Linked DNA regions of Homo sapiens: region 1 is linked to region 2. Evidence: promoter capture Hi-C in 16 types of primary human blood cells and fetal thymus (Javierre and others, 2016). All regions are on one chromosome and are shown on one strand. The core of a region is centred on a gene start or on the middle of the fragment in contact, and the rest is flanking DNA. Distances in the headings are between cores, read along the strand shown.

Region 1 (4,416 bases), core at 1,478-3,977, 150 kb before region 2:
TTGCCTGAACCCGGGAGGCAGAGGTTGCAGTGAGCCGAGATCCAGCCACTGCACTCCAGCCTGGATGACAGAGCAGGATTCTGTCTCACACATACACACACAGACACACACACACAGACACACACATACACAAAAGAAAGAAATCCCTGAGACTTGGTAATTTATAAAGAAAAGACATTTATTTTGGCTCACAATTCTGCAGGCTGTACTGGCATGGCACCAACATTTGCTCAGCTTCTGGTGAGGGCCTCAGGAAGCTTACAGTAAAGGCGGAAGGTGAAGGGGGAGCAGGCATATCACATGGCGAGAAAGAGGGGAGAGGTCTCAGACTCTTTTAAACAACCATATCTATGTGAATTGAGTGAGAACTCACTCATCACCAAGGAGATGGTGCTGAGCCATTCATGAAGGATCCTCTCTCATGATCCAAATACTTCCCACCAGGCTCCACTTCCAACACTGGGAATTACATTTCAACATGAGATTTGGAGGGGACGAGCATCCAAACCATATCAGATGGTGAGACAGGAGAACTTTGTGTGTACCAGCTGCACTGGTCTGAAGATATAACTAAGTCCCTGGACTTTTTCTCCCTTAATTGGAGAATTCCTAATGTTCCATGATCAGCCTGATTGACCAGTGGCTGACTGGTCCTGAGAGGGGAGATAAAAACAGACACACAGCTTTCTCCATAGACAAATCTCAACACTTTATTCATCCTGTGGCAGCAAGAAGGGGACATGGCCCCAAGATAGCCAATCAGGTGAGGTGGCTGGAGTATGTGTTATCTTTCCAGATAGTACATACAGACTGATCATGCAGAAACAGGAAGGGAAGCAATAAGTTAAAAGCCACATAAGTTATGAAAAAATAATATATACTTTATATGTCTTGTATCCCCACTGAGGATTTGCTCCCTTGGAAACCAATGAAGAGCCTGAGGAAAAGCACCAATCAGCACCCTCTTTTGGGACTTTGGGGATGAGAATCTCTGAGTTCCCATGGCCAGAGAGTCAGTAACCCTCCAGTGCTCCCCACAGGCCTGGAGGGCCTTGAGGCCTGGGATGGGCCCAGACCTCTGGCCAACATGTCCTGGCAAATGAGATGAATGAATCTAATGCAGTCTAGAAGAGGAGGTGAGGCAAGGGGCAGGGAGGGGAGAGGAGAGTGAAGGAGGGAAGGAAGCTGTGCAGTGGGAGGCTGGTGCCGCTGGGATGCCTCTGCAAGCCTCAGCATTGAGAGCCAAGAGGAGGAGATAGGAGTATGCCTGCCAACACCCCTGTCTTCTGGTGGGATGTGGAATTTTCCTCTCTGGTAGAACCCTTGTAAGGCTGTCATTTGGGCCCCACAGCTGGACCTCAAGGGCTTGGAAGCTCCCAGACTTGCCTGGACTGTGCCTTCTTCCTGGCCTGCTGGAGGCAGGGGGAGTGGGCATGGAGGGAGGAAGGGGAAGGAGTGAGAAGAAAGGAGGAGCTCTAACCCCATAGGTGTGGGGGGTTCCTGGGCTCCCCCATGAATGCCAAGGAGGGGAGGGCCAGGCTATTTGGCCCAGTGGAGAGGAGAACAGAGGCCCTGAGAAGTGAGATTCTTGGGAAGTGGGCCTGGGGCTTCACGGCAGGGGTGGGACCAGGGGTCTCCAAGGCCTGGTGCACCAAAGCCCGGTGCTCAGGCTGGGAACAACCCGGCTGGGGGCACAGAGCTCAGATCCAGGCTGGGTAGGACCCCAGCATGGCAGGGAGGTGAAAGGAAGATCGAATGCTCCTGCCCAATCTCAAGCTGCCATCTGGCTTCCACTCCCAGGGAGTTGATTATGGCAAGAGCAGCTTCCGGAGAAGCTGCTGGGAGCTGGCTGGGGGCAGCCCATCCAGTTCTGACTACTGCCTACTGGGAGGGACCCATGGGAGGAGGAAGGGATGCGGGTGTTCGGGCTGATCTCTGGGGCCTAGGCTTAGGTCCCAAATAGCCAGGGCCCCTCCTCCCTTCACTCCCTAATACTGTCAGGTCTCTGGGGAGCCCAAAGAGCACGGGAAAGCCAAGAGGGTCTTCAGCAGCCAGCCTTCCCAGGAATTCCAGATACAGGACAGGGCCCACGCCGTCCTCCTCGGCTCCCGCACATAGGTGGATGAGCCAGTCCCAGTCCCAGTTCCGAGGCAGAGACAAGGCAAGGCTTGAGATAGGAGTCAAGGTCAAGGATTGGGCAAGAGTCAGAGGGGCCTTGGCAGAGCCTGATGCTGGAGGAGGAGCCTCAGAGGAGCGAGGAGGTGGAGACAAAACTGACCCCTAATTCCGACTCACCCATCAGGAAAACCTCTGGCCAGAAGGTTGGAAGGATGGGACTGTGAGATACTGATATGGAGCGGAGTGGCTCTGAGGAGCTGGTGATGCTCCTCTCCCACCCTGGCAGCCCACAAAACACAGTCAGTTTTGAACCCCTCTCTCAGTTCAATATCAGGTTTTGCCTCTCTTCTCAACCTAGAGGCTCCAAGCTGCTTTCTTGAGTCTAGCTTAAGTCCCTCCTGCTGCAGTGGAGTGCCCTGGGGTTCCTGGGGTCCAGCCGCCTTACTCTGAGACCTCCGACTCCTGCGAGAAGTACTTCTCTGACATTTCGGTGATTTTGATCACGGGGCCTTTGCTGCCCTTCTTCTTTCGGGAGGGGGCCTTGGAGAGGCCTGATCTGGAGGCAGCTACAGGGAACATAAGGGGTAGGGGAGGGAAGGGGCTGGAGGTTTGGGAGCCACTTAAAATGATGCCTTTAGGATCATGATCCCCTACACCCTCACCCTCACCCCACCATGGGTTCTCGGGGCAAGAGGACTCACCGGTTTTGCACCTGGACTGCACAGCGCTGACCACAGTGGCTGAGGGCGAGTCCATCCTGGGGGTGGGGGACGGGGGGGTGGGAGAGGGATATGATGGGATGCGAAGAGAGCCTGTGGCTTAAACTCCCCTGGGGGCTGGCAAGTGGAGGGTAGTTCTTGGTGGTCACTCCCAGCCCTGGGGTTGCCCTGTTGTGTGGCCCTGGCTAGCCAGCTTGTCCTTCCTGGGCCTCTGTCCCATCTCCATGGCATAAATGGCTAATAGCATTGAGCACTGAGTTTTGACAGGCATTTGCAGGCATAATCACATGAATCATCCCTGCCACAGGTGAACCATGTTTATGATCAGCCCACTTTCCAGATGGGGAAACAGGATGAAATGAACTGGGCCAAGGTCCCAGTTTGTAAGTGACTAAGCCAAGACTTAAACCCAGGCCTGGTAGGCTCACTGTATCATATTGGAAAGGAGAACTGACTTTGTGTAGGCCTGGGCCTCCAGCCCTCCTTCCCCTGCAGCCCTTCCTCACCAGCCCTGGCTCTCACCTGCCCTCCTCGCCCTCCACCAGCTTCCTGTAGGTGGCGATCTCGATGTCCAGGGCCAGCTTGACGTTCATCAGCTCCTGGTACTTGCGCAGCTGCCGCGCCATGTCCTGCTTGGCCTGCTGCAGGGCGGCCTCCAGCTGGGCCAGCTTGGTCTTGGCATCCTGGAAGGCCAGCTCACCCTGCTCCTCAGCTGTCTTGATGTTCTCCTCCAGTTTCAGGCACTGCAGCCAGGAGGACAGAGTGAAAGGGCCTGTGAGCAGGGGAAGGAGGAGCGGGCCAGGGCCAGGAGTCGTCTCTGTCCTTGGTGGGGGTAGGTGTGGGGAGGGAGGGCTGAGCAATGGCATTTCTGGGTGTGGTAACTGGTTGCCATGCAGCAAGAGGGAGTTCAGTTAGACCTGAAGAGGCACCTTCCCAAGGCCAGAGGAAAGCACCGCAAGCCACTAAAGGAGCCTGTCCCGGCTGTCCTTATGGGGCAGCACCTGCCCTGAAGGTTTGTCCTGGCTGGAAGCTGGGACTTAGGCCTCTACTCCCTCCTCTCTGTGTAGTTGGTGGGGGTTCCCAGGAGGGAGGCAGTGGGCTCTGGGTGTGTGTAGTGTGGGGGCTTTCTAACGTTCCAGCAGCCTTGACCAGATTACAGAGTATTTTTGTATGCAGAGCGCCTCATAACTACTTTAGGAGGCTGTGCTATTATCCCATTTGACAGATTAGGAAACTGAGGCACAGAGGCGCTAAGCGACCCACACAGGGTCACTCAGTCATGTCTTGCCTGTATTCAGCACACATGACTGTGTGTCTCCCTGCTCTCCTCCCCGCCCCCAGGCGCGTCCCCCAGATACTCACATGGCTCTTGACAGAGAGGATCTGGGACCGCAGCTTCTGGATGCGCACATTGAGATCCGCGATCTCGCTGCGGCTGCTCTGGAGGCTGCTCCCATACTCGGCCGAGCGGGCGGCCTGCTCCTCCAGCTGGAGGTACATGGAGGTCTCAGTGAGGGGCAGCTCAGTGCCGCTCCCAGCACTTGTTACCCGCCTCTGCTTTTTCTTGCATCCTCCAGTC
Region 2 (4,961 bases), core at 1,538-4,037:
AAGGAAGCTGGCCACCCCTCAAAAGCAGATTCCTTCTGAGGATCCAGTGCGTATTCTTCATACCATATATCACACTTTGTAGCTGAAGGGCTAGATCTGTGGCTCTGTCATGACTGCCTTCCAGCAGACTGCAGGCTCCACAAGAACCCGCACTGTGTGGCTTGCGTGGCCCTGTGTCACTATCACCAGCACAGCGTGCTGCATGTGGTAGGTGATCAGATAGTGTTAGCTGAGTGAGAGAGCAAACTTAGGAAGACACATGTCCAGGACTTTGAGATCTGGTCTCAAAGGGACCCAGGAATACAAGTTTTTGTGAAAAATGGATGGAGAAAGGGAGAGAGCATTGTTTCCCTGATCTGCTGGTGGAAAGACAAGCTGAGCCTCCATCCCCCACACCCAAGGGACCCCTGTGTCTCAAACAGGGGGTACAGGTTCTTCTCCACTCTCAGGCAGAGATGCCAGCTGCAGACTGGATACTCCTCCGGGCTCAGGGAGCTGCCACCATGCTATTTCCTGTGCCCAGAACCCCTCCTGCCCACACTCACTTCTTCTTGTAGCCCTCCAGCACCTCCTGCACGTGGTTGAGCTCTGAGGCCAGCCTCCCACTGTCAGCCTCCACGCACTCGGCCTCCCGCCGCAGAGTCTCGATGTAGCCAGCAAACAGGGGCTCCAGGTTACTCTGGCAGCACTCGCGGTTTTGGTAGAACTGCAGCTTTGTCTCCAGCAGCTTGTTCTGCTGCTCCAGGAAGCGCACCTGCCACCCAGAGGCAGAGCCTAAGAACCTCTTCTTGCAGCATCAGAGGACAAAGAGGGGTTCCCAGCACGAGGGCCTGAAAGCCCCCAACTCTCTGACCCAGAGTCTTCCCTGGAAGGCGTTATGTCATCTCTCTCAAAAATGCCACCAGGGCTTAACCAGTTCACCACCTGGAAGTTCTTCCTGGGAGTTAATCTCTTCTAAGTCAGTTTACCTGGTGTCATGGAAAATGCTTGAAGAGTCCAGATTCTGCTGCCACTTGTTAACATTGTGCCCTTGGATAAAGCACTCACCTCCTCTGTAGAGTGGCGAGGTTAAAGCTCACCTTACTATGAGGATTAAAAGAACCCTTTAACAGAAAGGCACCCCACACTGAACAGCTACTGCTGTTCAATCACACCAAGCCAGGTGGACCTTTTTAGAAAGGCAAACTGTAAAAGTTGAAAAATAAAGCATGTGCCAATTATTCAAACCCTACAACAACAATGCAATTAGAATAATAGTCACCTGCAATATGAGAGTAGGAATGTCCTGTGCTCCAACCCCCTTATTTTACTGATGAGGCCAAGGAGGTTCCCTGACTGCCTGAGAGCTCACAGTGGCAGAGAAGAGCTCAAACTCCGATCTTCTGCGCTGCAGGGGGTGTCTTCTCTCCCTTTGACAATTATAGGAACATCCCTCTCCCAGCGATGAGGTTGGCCCACTACTCCACTCAGCTTCTTTTGTCTAATAACTTGGCCACACCCTTGGTAGGTCCTATCTTATGCTATCCTTGGTCTCTCATGCTATTAGAAATTCCACATTTTTTTTTCCCGATCCTTTCTGGTGGGCATCTCTCTAGTGTGACTCCTCTCTTGAGGTTTTGGCTCTGGAGGGCTCTTTCCAACCCCAGAACATGTTCCTAGTCAGAGCCTTTTCTCCCAGTCTCTCACATCACTGCCACATGGTGGTTGCCTGGATTCAGTGGAGAAGGTGGCTGCAAACTCTAGTTGGACACTGACTACACAGATGGTTTCAACCAAACCCAGACTGTGCACTGCCTGCCTCCCCATAAAGCCTGTGAGGATGGGGACCATGACTCTTGCTCACCCCTGGATCCTGAGCCCCAGGAACAGTGGCTTGGACAAAATACTCTAGACCCTGCTCAGTGGCCAAATCACTGTGTGGTATAGAAAGAGTTCTGTGCCATCCACGAGACCCACTTCCAGACAGTTTTCCAGCACCACACTTATTAGCCCTGCCTTGATGGAGACAGCATCTCCTTGGCATTTAAGCAGTTATTTGGCTTCAAATGCCCTGAGCGCCCACACAGTGGTCCTTTGCTCACTAGGTGATATTATCACTCAGTGTGGAAGGCTCTGCCCCTCGTTCTGCTTTTGTGTTTTCAGTTAATCTCCCCCATCAGTCTGGTAGCTCCCGGTCCCATTTTTGTCTTTCTGTCTGTGTCCTAGAAGTATGACTACCTTTCCCTTTGGCCTGGGAACTTCTGTGGGCAAGTTCTTGCCTTTGACTTCCCTGTCAGTGCCCAGCCTGAGTTCTGAACATGAGTAGGGGTTCAGGAAGGGTGTGATCCAGGACGACACCCACCTTGTCGATGAAGGCCGCGAATCTGCTGTTGAGGGACTTGATCTGCTCCTTCTCCTCCTGCTTCACGCACTGCGCGTTGGGGTCTATCTCCAGGTTGAGGGGCGTGAGGAGGCTCTCGTTGACCGACACGGTGGTGATGCATGGGGGGCTGGGTCCGCACACGCCCCCGGAGCGGTAGCCGAAGCTGCGTCCGCAGGAGCCGGCGCGGAAGCCCCCGCACACGCTGTGGCTGCCAAAGCCCCCGGTGAGGCCGCGGTAGCAGGAGATGCCGCGGTAGGGGGCGGCGGTGATGCAGCAGCGGCTTGGCCGGGGCCCGCAGGCAGAGACACAGCTGAAGTTTCCAGGGCGGAACCCACAGCCTATGGAGTTGAAGCCACAGGTCATGACGGAGGTTAGGAGGTGTCTGAACAGTGGAGTAGATGGCAGAGGATGGAACCAAGGGCCTGTGCTCCCTGGCTGATGGCAGGCCCTTTTATGTGCCAGGGGCAGCTGGTGTTAAAAGAGGGAGCAAAGAGACAATAGCTGAATTTTATTGGCTTGGCATCACCCTGGCCTCTTAAGCTAGAACCCTGCTTGCCTCTTCAGTGTGGCTGCATCAACAATCCCTGGCCACGGGCCCTGTTTCATCTTCAAAGCCCTTTATAAGCTTCCTCCTTGCTCCTGCCCCTCCCACTGGCACTGCTGTGGAGCGGGGAGAGGGGTTCCTGAAAGCATTAGTTGCATTCTGCGGTCCAAGCGAGGGGAATGGGTGCAGTGACCTGGGGTAAAGCCTGCTCTCTGAACCCTGTTCTGAAAGGGGCAGAGCTAGGCTATGGGCCCTGGACCCATGGCCAAGCCCTGGGGTGGAGTGGCTGGCCTGTCCCAAGGAGGGGGCTGCCTCTGAGACAACCTCTTGCTGTAGGCTTTCCTGTCTTTTTCTCAAAGGCGGGTTCCTTTCCTCATTGTCAAGATTGGCCGCTCCTATCCTATTCCTGCTCAGAGCCTGGTCAAGGATGGGAGTGGGGGTAGAGATTTGGGGTGGGAGGAGGGCATGTTCTTTGCACTTTGGGTATTCCTAGTGCAGGGACACCATCTGGGACATGGAAGAAACTGATTCAGAGAGTTCAGGACAGTGCCAGGGCTATGCTTCAGAGTTCCAGGTGTCATTGCTGATGGGATCAGGAGCGGGGAGTGTGGAATACCTCAGAGCTCCAGGGACTCATGGAGGAGAGTGGGGACCTGGGCTTGAGGAGGATTGGGGTGGGGTAGTACAGGATTGAGAGATGACCAGAAAAGAGTCTGGCTCTGATTTGCAGACTAGACTATGTGTATTCATTTATTCATTTATTCATTTATTCATTTATTCAGGAAATACTTATTTGGTGCCCACCAACTATGCACTAGCCACTGTGCTAGGTTCTGGAAATCCTACAGAGACCTGGGGTGTTTGGAGGTAGCATGCATGTGGGGGAGCCAACATTTGGCTAGGGGGAAAGATGAGAAGCCACAGATGGGGGGAAGGCCCTCACAATGTCCAGGCTGATTGGTGTTCTTTAGGTTCCCAGCAGGGAAGCTCAGTGATGGGGTCTTGGGGTGTATGTACTCACCAGGAAGGAGGGAAGGTGCGGGAGGTGAGGGACATCAGCAGGGTCCTTAAATGAGATCACTCTCTCACCTCAGAGAACACACTGGGTGAGAGAAGGGTGCTAGCTCATGTGGCTGTTCCTAAAGCCAAGCTCTCTTACTTTGGGCCCTTGTTCCTTTGGGTTAGGACAGGCAATGGCTTTGATGGATGGACAGTCGGACCGAGCCAGGAGGTTTGCCTTAACCCGAGGACCTGAGCCCATCAACCCTTCCAAACACACATCTCTGGACTGCTTTCGTCAGGAGAGGATGAGGAGGACTCCACTGATGGACCTGTGTCCTGACCCAGCCACAACCCAACACTGACCCACTCTGGGCTAATAGTAACCCTCCTGTGACTCTCATCTTTTGCCCTTCCCACTCCCGCTCAGGATGAGTGGGCCAGTTATATCCCAGAGTGGGGATCTGGGGATGATGGAAGAGGGGCCCATCTTCTGTGGGCCTGAGGGAGGGCAGGCGATGGTGCTGTTGAAATCTCTTAGGGAGCTGGACATCTGCCATGGATCCAAAAAAAGGACTCTCCTAGCCTCTCTTCTTGGGTCCTGTGGACAGGCTTCCAGAGTCTTGTGTCTGGGGCAGGAACTCTGGGGGTGTGGGCTGTGTGATAGGGGATCCTGGTGTGAAAGACACACCAGGGAGGCACAGCCTGAGGGTACCTGGGGGGCCTGGGGGTGGCTGACTGCAGCTGAGTGGCTAGTGGGATTTTGGGAGCATCTTTGAGGGAGGCTGGGCTGGCTGGTGCTGTCATGTTCAGTCTTGGTTGGGTCAAACATCTGCTAGACAGCCAAGAAAGACCAGGCTCTTCACCCACCCACACTGGAACCAGTGAGCACCTGGAATGCTCTCCACACATATCCAATGATTATGGGGGATCTGTTTCTTGGTGAAATGCTGAGGACTGCAGGGCAGTGAACCCTCTGTGAAGCATTTCTCCATCACGATGCTGGAAACTGCGCTGCTGTCTTCTGACCTGGCTCATCTGTCTCAATCCAGCAGG

What was found. The method cuts DNA at HindIII sites, captures the fragments that hold promoters and counts their contacts. A CHiCAGO score of 5 or more calls a contact.
Region 1: a fragment that was not itself captured here is called in contact with the fragment with the promoter of KRT83 in region 2 in 3 of 17 cell types (naive CD4 T cells, M1 macrophages and total CD4 T cells); the score reaches 5.8 in naive CD4 T cells.

The regions. Positions count from the first base shown.
Region 1 is chr12:52,168,839-52,173,254 of GRCh38, forward strand. KRT80 (keratin 80) reads right to left here. Exons shown (of 9, transcript NM_182507.3): 6 at 4,200-4,325; 7 at 3,360-3,580; 8 at 2,820-2,875; 9 at 158-2,684. The coding sequence ends at 2,560. Among named protein-coding and RNA genes, the nearest start is that of KRT80, 21 kb to the right of the region's middle. The HindIII fragment of the contact is 4,944 bases long and covers 256-4,416 here.
Region 2 is chr12:52,318,611-52,323,571 of GRCh38, forward strand. KRT83 (keratin 83) reads right to left here and starts at 2,788. Exons shown (of 9, transcript NM_002282.3): 1 at 2,342-2,788; 2 at 546-754. The coding sequence starts at 2,725. The HindIII fragment of the contact is 9,694 bases long and covers 1-2,985 here.